2 separate regions of the Homo sapiens genome follow, and region 1 is linked to region 2. Evidence: promoter capture Hi-C in human tissues and cell types (Jung and others, 2019). All regions are on one chromosome and are shown on one strand. Each heading gives the region's core, a stretch centred on a gene start or on the middle of the fragment in contact. The rest is flanking DNA. Distances are from core to core; before and after follow the strand shown. Region 1 holds the start of PI3 (peptidase inhibitor 3). Region 2 holds the start of SEMG2 (semenogelin 2).

Region 1 (5,205 bases), core at 1,802-4,301, 46 kb after region 2:
TTAATGGTTACTTAATCTCTCTTAGCTTCAATCTTTTTACAAAATTAGAAAATAAAATATGTATAATGGCCATCTGAAAGGGACTTATGAAAAATAAGTGACAATACATGTAATCTACTAGGTATAGGAAATAGAGTAAATATTAAAAAACAGAAACCATTATTTCCTCCAATGATGTATTTTGTATTTGTCAAGCCAGAAGTTTGGGTACTGCTGTCACCTGTACTCCAAGACACCCTAGTGTCAAAGCCCTACAGTTGTTCGGACTAGCCTCTGAACAATAGGGAAAAATCATGGCTCAGATGCTCGTGGATGGGGCAAAGTGGTGCAGGGATCCACATTGTCTCACCCCAAGCCTCTGCTCCCCATGTCATCTCAGAGCAAGAACCCAATACACAAAGAAGAGCTGTTTCATATCCCAGAGTGGCAGGATTAGACCTTCCTTTGCAGAATAATTATACCTTACCCCCTCAACTGAAATAGACCTCTGAGGCCTGGAAGGGGGACATACATTTGCCAGAGGTCACCCAATACGTGGGGAGGCAAAGCCAGTGCTGAGATCACCTGACTGTCAAGCCTGTGCTTATTCCCCTTCACCCAGGCTGCTCCCCTCCTGGGGGCTGTGGCCTTCTCTGAGAGTTTCCTTGTGCAATCGCAGTGGGACGAGTGGGTCAACAGGAGAGCCATGAGGTTGCTCATATTCCTGCCCCTTTCTCCACTACTCAAGTCTGCCCTGCCCCCAACATGTATGTCTCCAGAGAATGCTATTCACCCAAACCTCTGACACCATAGTATGAAGGACTTAGTGTATCTTGCCTCCTCATTCACATCTTAAAACAGAAATCTGGAAGAGAATATTGCTTAACCTAAAGGAATGCTACTTCATGGAGGAATCTCAGGCATAAACCAGTGAAATTCTAAAGAGCAGGAGTTTCGCAGCATCTGTAACATCATCCTTTCTATGTGGTGTTGAAAAGATATAGATTCCTGGGAAACATTAATGAGAAGGAAGTGGGGAGCTGTAGTTGCAGCCATAAGGGTTGGCTGGTCACACTGGTAAGGCCGACAGTAGCCAGGTCAGGACTGATGGTGGATTGGAAAAAAAAGACCTGCTTATGGTTTATGTAATGTTTATTTATTTTTTGTGTTTTGTGTTTTTCCTGGTCCTTGGCCAAAGGCAAGATTTCCATATTTCCATTTCCTGGTGAAAAGGAGCTGGCAGCACTGGGGCTGATTATTGGATTTGTAATATGAAGCCCTAGCAATGTGCCTCCTGTTTCCTCCCCCCGCCCTGCTCTCTTTCACCATGGGACCGTTTCCCCTCTTCACTGGAGAGAAGAAGTCCCAATTCTACATCCATTTCCCCAAAGCATCCAGGAGCCCAGAAGTCATAGGAACCAGAAACAAGTGGAGCAGAAGGAACTCTTTATTGGAAAGTGGATGAGAGAGGCAGCTCCAGCCGTGGGCATCCTGAATGGGAGGAAGAATGGACAGTGTGGGAAGGGGAAGGGCAGCAGGGACTTAGGACCAGATGGGGCCTGTAGCTCTGGGGACGGCACAGGTGCAGCAAGGACCGGCTCCCTCTGTGGAAGAGAAGAGTATCAGAGGTGAGAGTCAGCACATCAAAGCACTCAGAGGCAGTGAGGAAGACAGATCATCCTTCTAGGCACTCTGGTTATAGCCTCTCAGACCCCTCAGTCTCCCAGTCTTTCTGTCACCTCCCACAACCTCCCTCCCACCAACCTGGGATGCTTCCCCACCGCTCAGCCTTCTTTTGTGTCTTCAGGGGTCTCCTCGTTCTCCAGCTAGTGCTCACCTCACTGGGGAACGAAACAGGCCATCCCGCAAGAGCCTTCACAGCACTTCTTGATTCCTGGGCAGTCAGTATCTTTCAAGCAGCGGTTAGGGGGATTCAACATGGCGCACCGGATCAAGATAATGGGGCAGGAGCCAGGCTTAGTGGAGACTGGACCTTTGACTGGCTCTTGCGCTTTGACTTTATCTTGACCTTTAACTGAAACTTGTCCTTTAACGGGATCTTGTCCATTGAATGGAACACGGCCTTTGACAGTGTCTTGACCTTTAACAGGAACTGTTAAAAGAAGAAACGAGCCCACATTTATACCCAGTAAGCCTCTGCTTCAGCTGCCATGTCTTTCCTCTGGGTCTGGGTCCATCCACTGCTTACTGCAGCATCCTCAAACCATGGCCTGAGTAGGGAAGGTACACCTCTGGGAGCTACACTCTTGGAAGGCTCTTCCTTTTTTGGGGTGGTCTACTGGACCAGAGTTCCCTTGAGTATTTGTTTCTTCCCCCTTCCTCCACTCCAAGTCTCTCAGGAGCAGTGGTCAGACTGGGGTGACACCCAGCAGTGAAGAGGACACATTGTCATTTGTTAGGAAGTGCATTGGAGTAGGAAAGAACCCTGAGCCACATACTAGGAGACTTGAGCCCCATCCTGGCTCTGGGAATTACCTTGGCAATTGCTCACTCATTTCTACATTTTTGGTTCCCTCCTTATAAAATGGGGGTCCTCAAACAACATGATTCCTGAAGGCTTGTTGTTTCTTAACCTCCTTTTAGAGTACTGATTACTCCAGTGCTTTTATGGGGCAGAGAAACGGGGGACTGTGTCCACACCCAAGGTTTAAAATCCTGGAGTTCATTATTTTATTGCACATTCTGCACAGGTATTGACATCTGAGGCCAAGGCCACATACCAACATTACTTCCACAAACAGTCCTGATATCTCAGTCACTGAGGTGGAAAGCACGTGGAGTCCACCAGCCAAAGTCCTATTTTTTCTGAATATGATGGCAAAGAACAGAAAGCTGAAATCTGGGCTCCAGTGCTGCCTACTGCTTCAGAAGTGCTCCCTGTCCTGGCCCAGGGTGTCCCAGAGGGTCTCCCCTTAGTCCAACCCAGCCCAGCAGGTCACCTGTTCACTCACCTCCCGTGACAGCTGCCTCTAGAACCAGCGTCCCAGCGATGAGGAACACCACCACGATCAAGAAGCTGCTGGCCCTCATGGTGTCAGGAAGGTGTTTGGCTAAGAGCTAAGGCCATACCAATCTTTATGCAGTCCAGCTTGGCCTGGCTCCAGGGGCGGGTCTGTGGTATTTACAAGGGATAATTCCTTAGCTGTATTGGGAAATATCCACCCCATTCTGGGAGGGACCTGGGGGCTTTCCCTCAGGATTATTCACAGGAAGAACTAATGGACATTACATCACATCATCTCTGATTGTCCCAAGAGTTTTCCTACTTTCTCACAGAGTAGAAGTGCTGGCTCACTTATTAGGTAACATTACAATGAAATTCTTCATGTTTTGAAATACAGTGAGACCCAAGAAGAGAAAGGAATCACCGAAGGTTATTCAGCAAGTCACTGGTAGATCCAGTCTTGATTACAAAACCAAGGTGTTTCTCCATTATGCTCTGGTGCTACAAACCCCACCCAGATCTACTTTATCATTTTACCACTCCCAGCATCAAACTGGGCATTTCCTTCCTTCTTCCCTGGTCCTGCAAAAAACTCTGTAAGACAAATTTGCCTTGAATACATAATGACTAATTATTGCACTTTGCTGTTTCAGAGACGGCCTTTCAGATGCATCAAGAAAGTAATTGGAAGGTGGAATTCTAGGTCTGAAGAGGGATGATGCCCTTGAAATCACAGTGGTAGGGAGAAAATAATCAGAAAGTAGTAGAAAACATGTATCATGTATACATTGGACATCTACAGTGTGTGTGTCCAGCATGCCTCCCCACTTCTTTGAACAGCACCCTGTTTCTTGTGAAGAATTGTTGTCTCTTTGAACCATCAACTTGTGAGTCTAATGGGGACTGCTAATCATGAAAGCCTGACCCCTGACCACAGGTAGGGGTGTGTGTGTGTGTGTGTGTGTGTGAGTGTGTGTGTGTGTGTTGTGTGTGAGACTTGGTCTGGTCTATTAACATATTTTATTTGAATGAGTAATGAAAGGGGAAAACGGGGGTTCCTTCTTCTGGAAAAGGTGATATATATGAACCAGGGAATTCCAGAAGTGGTTATCTAAGTCTGGGGGTGGAGATCAATTGTCTGAGAAAAACGACTCTAATACACTGAGACAAGGAGAGAAGTGATGGTGAGAGAAGATTCAGATGACACAGCCAGGTTTCCCTCCTTTACCTTGAGAGCAGTTCTTCACACACCCTTCTCATGGTTGGGTTATGAGGCAATAAATTAGCCCTCTGCTTCAGCTAGTCTGACTTACTATTCTGTCATTGTTACCAAAAGTTCTGAGTAATAGAAATGAATATCCTGAAGTTGGGTATTGTCAGGGACAGAATCTGAGTTAAGAAAGTCACTGAGTTGAGGTGGAGTTAAGGCAGGGAAGGTAACAAACTAATTATTGGACACTAATTCAGCTGGTGAAATCCCCACCCCTTGTCGATTTAGACTCTGACCACATGCCCACCAAGCCTGAAACTGAGGGAGACATAAACGAATGTCAGACTGTGGAAGCCTTTGGCTACCTTACACAAAAGCTCATTGTACAATAAGCCATACAAACAAATAAAAAGCTCACAGAAAATACCTATATTCTTTAAAGAATAGCATTAAAATGAGCTGCCAGGTAAAGGAGGAGAATATTTGCTATATCTATGCTCCATGCCTCTCCTCAGTTGCTTCATTCTCCTTCCTCCCCAGAGATAACTGCTTCCTAAGATTTTATGGTAATTAGCCCTTGCTTTCCTTTATAGTTATGCCACTTCTGTCTGTATTCTGAAATATATATTCAGTTTAGTATACTTTTTCAATTTGTATGTAAATGAAATCTAAGGTATAGTGTTCATATGTCCTGCTTATGTTGCTCAACATTATATTTTTGAGAGTCATCCATTTTGAAGTCTACACCTGTAGTTCATCATTTTCACTGCTGTACAGTATTCTATGAAAAATACCAAAAATGTTATATATTCATTCTACTGTCAATATACATTGGATATTTCTAGGTTTTAGCTATTATAGTGTTGCTATGAATATTCTTGTACATATCTCTTGCAGAACATAGGTATGCATTTATTTTGGATATATGGTTAGGAATGGAATTGCTGGATCACAGAGTACAGATCACAGAGTATAGATACATCCAGCTGTCATAAATACTGCAATCAATTTTCCAACATCATTGTACCAATTCACACTGCTATCAGCAATG
Region 2 (5,185 bases), core at 1,091-3,590:
TAGTCAGTGCATGTTCAAAAAAATCTTTAGCAGGTAGGCATGTATAAAAATATTATTGAAGAATACTCAATTAAGAATAGGAATTCTAGGACCCAGTGATAGTCCAAGCAGCCTTCCCTGCCACTACCAGGTCCTCTACTCGCCAGGAAATGGTGTTCATCTTCCCACCACTTGTAATATAGCACTTCTATTGATGTGAACAATGGTTATCAGTCCTACCATGTTCCTGGAGAGTCCCCAACTTTGGGACAGGCACCTCTCCTATTTGGTAAGAAAAGCAAACTTACCTTGCTATTGGTCCAGCTTTTCAAGTGGTTGCTAAGCAACAGGGCTATGTAGATATTGGATTTCTGTCTTCATTATATTGTTGTGTCAAATGATCATCTTGGGCAACCTCATGCTCAGTAATTACAATATTATGTGACTCACTGGATTCCTGTTTGTATCTGCCTTTTTGTTCATGACTGAGTAGGTCTTGTTTGCTATCTGCAGATTGACCAGACTTTCCTTTTGCATTTTGGCCAGACCATTGATCTTGATTAGGATTTGGTGTCTGGATTTGAGACTTGCCTTCTACTAGCTTTTCAATTTGGAAAGAAATACTGCTTTGGGATACATCTTTCTGCGTGCTCTTTCCTCCATAGTTGAGTCGTCTTTCTTCTGTACTTGAAGATTGGTATGACATTTTATTTTCCTTATGGCCATGCTCTTGATCTTGACTAGGAATTGTTACCTGGTTTTGAGACTTGCCATGTATTTTCTCTTCAGTTTGGATAGAAATACTGCCTTTGGATACACCTTTCTGTACATCCTTTTCTCCACTGTTGAGACGTCTTTCTTCTGTACTCGAAGATTGGTATGATATTTTATTTTCCTTATGGCCATACTCTTGAGCTTGACTAGGAATTCTTACCTGGTTTTGAGACTTGCCATGTATTTGCTCTTCAGTTTGGATCGAAATACTGCCTTTGGATACACCTTTCTGGATGCCCTTTTCTCCACAGTTGAGATGTCTTTCTTCTGTACTTGAAGATTGGTATGATATTTTATTTTCCTTATGGCCATGCTCTTGATCTTGACTATGAATTGTTACCTGGTTTTGAGACTTGCCATGTATTTTCTCTTCAGTTTGGATAGAAATGCTGCCTTTGGATACATCTTTCTGTACACTCTTTTCTCCATGGTGAAGTTGTCTTTCTTCTGTACGTGAAGACGGGTATGATATTTTATGTGCCTTCCGGCCATGCTCTTGATCTTGACTGAGATTTTTTGTCTGGTGTTGATTCTTGTTATATACTAGGAGCTCATCTTGGGTAGTAAAAATGTCTTTGGGTCCATGTTGGAGTCTGTCTTGATGTGCAGGATGGAGTGAAGTTTGTAGTTTACTTGAATGTTCCTCTCTCACGTCAACCACATTTTGGTAATGCCCTTTATTTTGATGAGAATTTTTAGTCTCACGTTGTTGTTTGTTAACTACTAGTTCTTCAGTTTGGAGAACATAACTGCTTTGGGATCCACCTTGTGTTCTACCTTTTTGTGCACCAGAGGCTGAAGCTTGTTCTTTACTTAGTCCATGAACCCATAGCCTTTTTTCTGTGTTTGAACATTGACTGGATAATCCCTTTCCAGATGGGCTATTCCCCTGATCTTGAGAAGGATTTTGTGTCCCATGATGAGCTTGGCCTCCTTTATGATGTATAACTATCATGTGAAAATGACCTTTTGATTTATCATGGTCTCTGCCTTCTTGTTTATAATTGAGCAGTTGTTGACTTCCACCTAGGTGTTGTTTTGATTTTGTCGCCTTATGTAGGGCATTCAAATCATATTGCTGACTTTTTCGGGTCCAGTCATGATCATTGATGTCTACATGATATGTGTGTTGAATAGAAAAACTGCCTTTGGATTTAGTATGTTGTTGGTCTTTTTGTCCAAAATAGTGCTGGCCCTTTTGTCCATGTGGAAATTGGGAAGATCCGCTTGGCAATTGGCCTTTTGATCCACCTGGTAATTGATAATAGAAATGTATGCATTCATTATCTCCAAAGCTCTCTTGCAACTCTTACCTCCCACCTTTTCCCAACAAATTTCTGATATTTCCAAAAGCCTACAGCGTTGGGTGGAGAAAAATCAATTCTCATCAAGGAGAAGAATCTGTGCCTGAACAGGTTACTGTTTGCACCCTGAATATCCTTAGAGGCCATTTTTTTAAAGTAGCTTTCCCCAAGGCTTACCCTCTCCACTCACCTTTTTGTCCCATCACAGCTGCTTGCTTCTCCAAGATAAGGAGCAGGGAAAGGACAAAGAGGATGATGGACTTCATCTTGCTTGAAAAATCTTGTCTGAGAACTGAGCGGATCTCTTCATTTATATGTTCCTTGAGTGGGTGTGCTATGGGTGGAGCTGAAATGTCAAAAGGCACTGCCCTTTCATAGCTTATTAGTAAATGCCAGCTTCCTCACCCCTGCTCAGTGGGGGATAATGTCAAAGTCCCCAGGGACTTAGCATGGGGACATAATATCAAAGGCAATTTTTTTTACTTTCAGAATCCCCAGCAAAATTTTATCGGTCTTTGTATATCATCATGCCAGATCGCTTGCATTATACAGAAGAAATTCAGTCCGGAGTAGGAAGGAGACTAGCTTCAGGTTACAAAAGTAATTGGTGGCTGACAATGCCTTCATACTCTAAATGCGAGTTTCCTTTCTGATCCAATAACTTAAATACTAAATTTTAGGTATAACTCTATACTTTGTCTTGTTTTAAAGTAATCCTGAGACACATTCTGTTTTACTCGAGAAGGAGCAGTCATAGAAGTAGAATGATACAGAAGAGAAAGAAACTTCATGGAAGCCAAAGAAAAAAATTTCAACAAATAAATGAGGCATACCAATGTCAAATGTATCTGTGAAGTTCATCACAAAAAAGACTAACATGTGTCAAAAACTTTCTGATGTTACTCACTGCTAGTAATGTTAACGAGAGATGAATACAGTTGTGTTGGGTTGTCAGTTGAAGGATGGAGTCCAGCTGAAACCATCTCAAGAAGTCTGATTTCATGGTGGAATGAGAGGTGAGGCTGTATCTGGAGGGTGAGGTAAGCTCCAGAGATTTTTTGAAAGGATGAGAAAAATTTAACATGTTTTTATGATGATAGGAACAACTGTTGGAAAAAGAAGTAAGAATGTTGGTTTCCAAATTGGATTATTTGATGATATTTACCTAAACAAAAATGTATTTACCAAAATACATTTTTTAAATAAAAGCATTTCATACTTCTGTAATAAACTGCTGAACCCTCCAACAGGCTGTGAGGAATATTTGCCAACTTCAGTTCATTAAATAATGTATTGAGAGTGGACCTAAAGCTAAAATTTTTACCTTGGGTGGAAGCATAGGGTTTTTTTGCTTTTGTTTTGTTTTGTTGTGTTGTGTTGTTTTGTTTTGTTTTTTTGCAATTGTGAAAACTTCTTGAAAAATCCAAGGAAGGTTTTTTGTTTGTTTGTTTGTTTGTTTTGTTTTTTTTGTTTGTTTGTTTTTGAGACAGAGTCTCGCTCTGTCGCCCAGGCTGGAGTGCAGTGGCACCATCTCGGCTCACTGCAAGCTGTGCCTCCCAGGTTCATGCCATTCTCCTGCCTCAGCTTCCCAAGTAGCTGGGACTACAGGTGCCTGCCACCACGCCCGGCTAATTTTTTGTATTTTTAGTAGAGACGGGGTTTCACCGTGTTAGCCAGGATGGTCTCAATCTCCTGACCTCGTGATCCGCCCGCCTCAGCCTCCCAAACTGCTGGGATTACAGGCATGAGCCACTGCACCCGGCCAGTTTCTTTACTTTGACTGAAAAAGTCCTTGTTATGAGAAGACAACAGGAGAAGCAGCAACATTTGAACAGTGACCCTGTATGCATTCAGAACACTGTGGAGGGTAGTTCTGGAGAAAGGACGGCTTGGAAACTTATTTTCTATTATTCTCTCTTAAAATCCTAACCTTCCTGTAAGCAATGCTATATGGAAGGGGAGAGGGGAAAGGCCAACCATAGGAAAAAATGCTACTTATGCCATCAAACTTGAAGCATGTGAGCTATGTGGTTTCTCTATGAGCCATTCTGAGATCTTACCAGTTTTATCTGTTTGCCCTAAGGGCAGTAAGTATTTCCTTATGGCAGGGACCCCAAAAGAAAAGAGTAAAGTTTTCCTGAACACAAATTTATTGCTGTACCTGCTAATCACTATAATCTTCCTTACACTTCCCTTAAGGAAATACCAGGAACTGTTGTGTTCCAAGATTACCGGAACAAACAAGAGTCTGAAATATTAATCTTACTTATGGATCAAGAACAAAACTTCCAACTAATCTAGTGTCCAAAAGATACAGATAAAACAAAGGTGCACAAGATTTGCAAAAACAAAGCAGGAAAATGCAAACTAGGCACAACATGTGATTATGATACTCATATCATGATTGGATTTAATGAAATTTGAAAAAAAAGCATTTCAAAATTAAAAATAAATCTATTGATAAAGATGAAAGCAGAAATCGGTAATTTGGAAAGCATAAACATGGTATAGTGCTGCATACATCTTAGATGTGGTATCATGATTGGGAAAATATCAAATGATAAAAAATAAACAAGGAAAAAATAGTAGAATATTTTAAAGTTCACCAAGTAGGAGACAGGTCACTGAGCTTGACACAGTTTATATGCCCCTGTGGCAGCACAGTGGCTATGTGTCCACACTGAGTACCTGAGAAATAGCCCTGTAACACTCTCTCCCTCCAGAGACACATCCATGGCCTGCTCAGTGGCCCTATACTCCCAATAAGAGCTTGAGAAACAGACTCACAAGCTCCCCTGCTGGGCTTGACACCACGCTGGCCCAGCTGCCGAGAGCCCATTTCCCAAACCTGAGAAACAGCCCATGGGCCACCCCTGGTGGGCATACCCAAGCCAGCCAAGTAGTTATGTGGTCATGTCCCAGGTCTGAGAAACAGTCCTACAGATTGCCTCTGGTGGTCACACATGAAGGACAACCAAGAAGCTCCATGCCTACACCCTAGGCCTACAGAATATCTTCTTGGGCCACCCCTTACAGAAATGCTCAAAGCCTAGCCACTCAGCCATGCAGCTGTGTCAAGTGCCTGAGAAAAAGCCCTCTTTCCTCTCTCATTCCCTTCCTCTCGTAGG

Evidence for each region. Contacts are between HindIII fragments. The study calls those that stand out against the background at their distance.
Region 1: the fragment with the promoter of PI3 here is called in contact with the fragment with the promoter of SEMG2 in region 2 in 2 of the 25 tissues and cell types used here (mesendoderm cells and small bowel).

Annotation. Positions count from the first base shown.
Region 1 is chr20:45,172,748-45,177,952 of GRCh38, reverse strand. It overlaps PI3 (peptidase inhibitor 3), which reads right to left and starts at 3,051. Exons shown (of 3, transcript NM_002638.4): 1 at 2,952-3,051; 2 at 1,817-2,092; 3 at 1,409-1,583. The coding sequence starts at 3,030. The coding sequence ends at 1,818. RefSeq lists an enhancer at 2,262-3,461. The HindIII fragment of the contact is 10,589 bases long and covers 1-5,205 here.
Region 2 is chr20:45,218,528-45,223,712 of GRCh38, reverse strand. It overlaps SEMG2 (semenogelin 2), which reads right to left and starts at 2,340. Exons shown (of 3, transcript NM_003008.3): 1 at 2,248-2,340; 2 at 288-2,004. The coding sequence starts at 2,323. The coding sequence ends at 332. The HindIII fragment of the contact is 14,800 bases long and covers 34-5,185 here.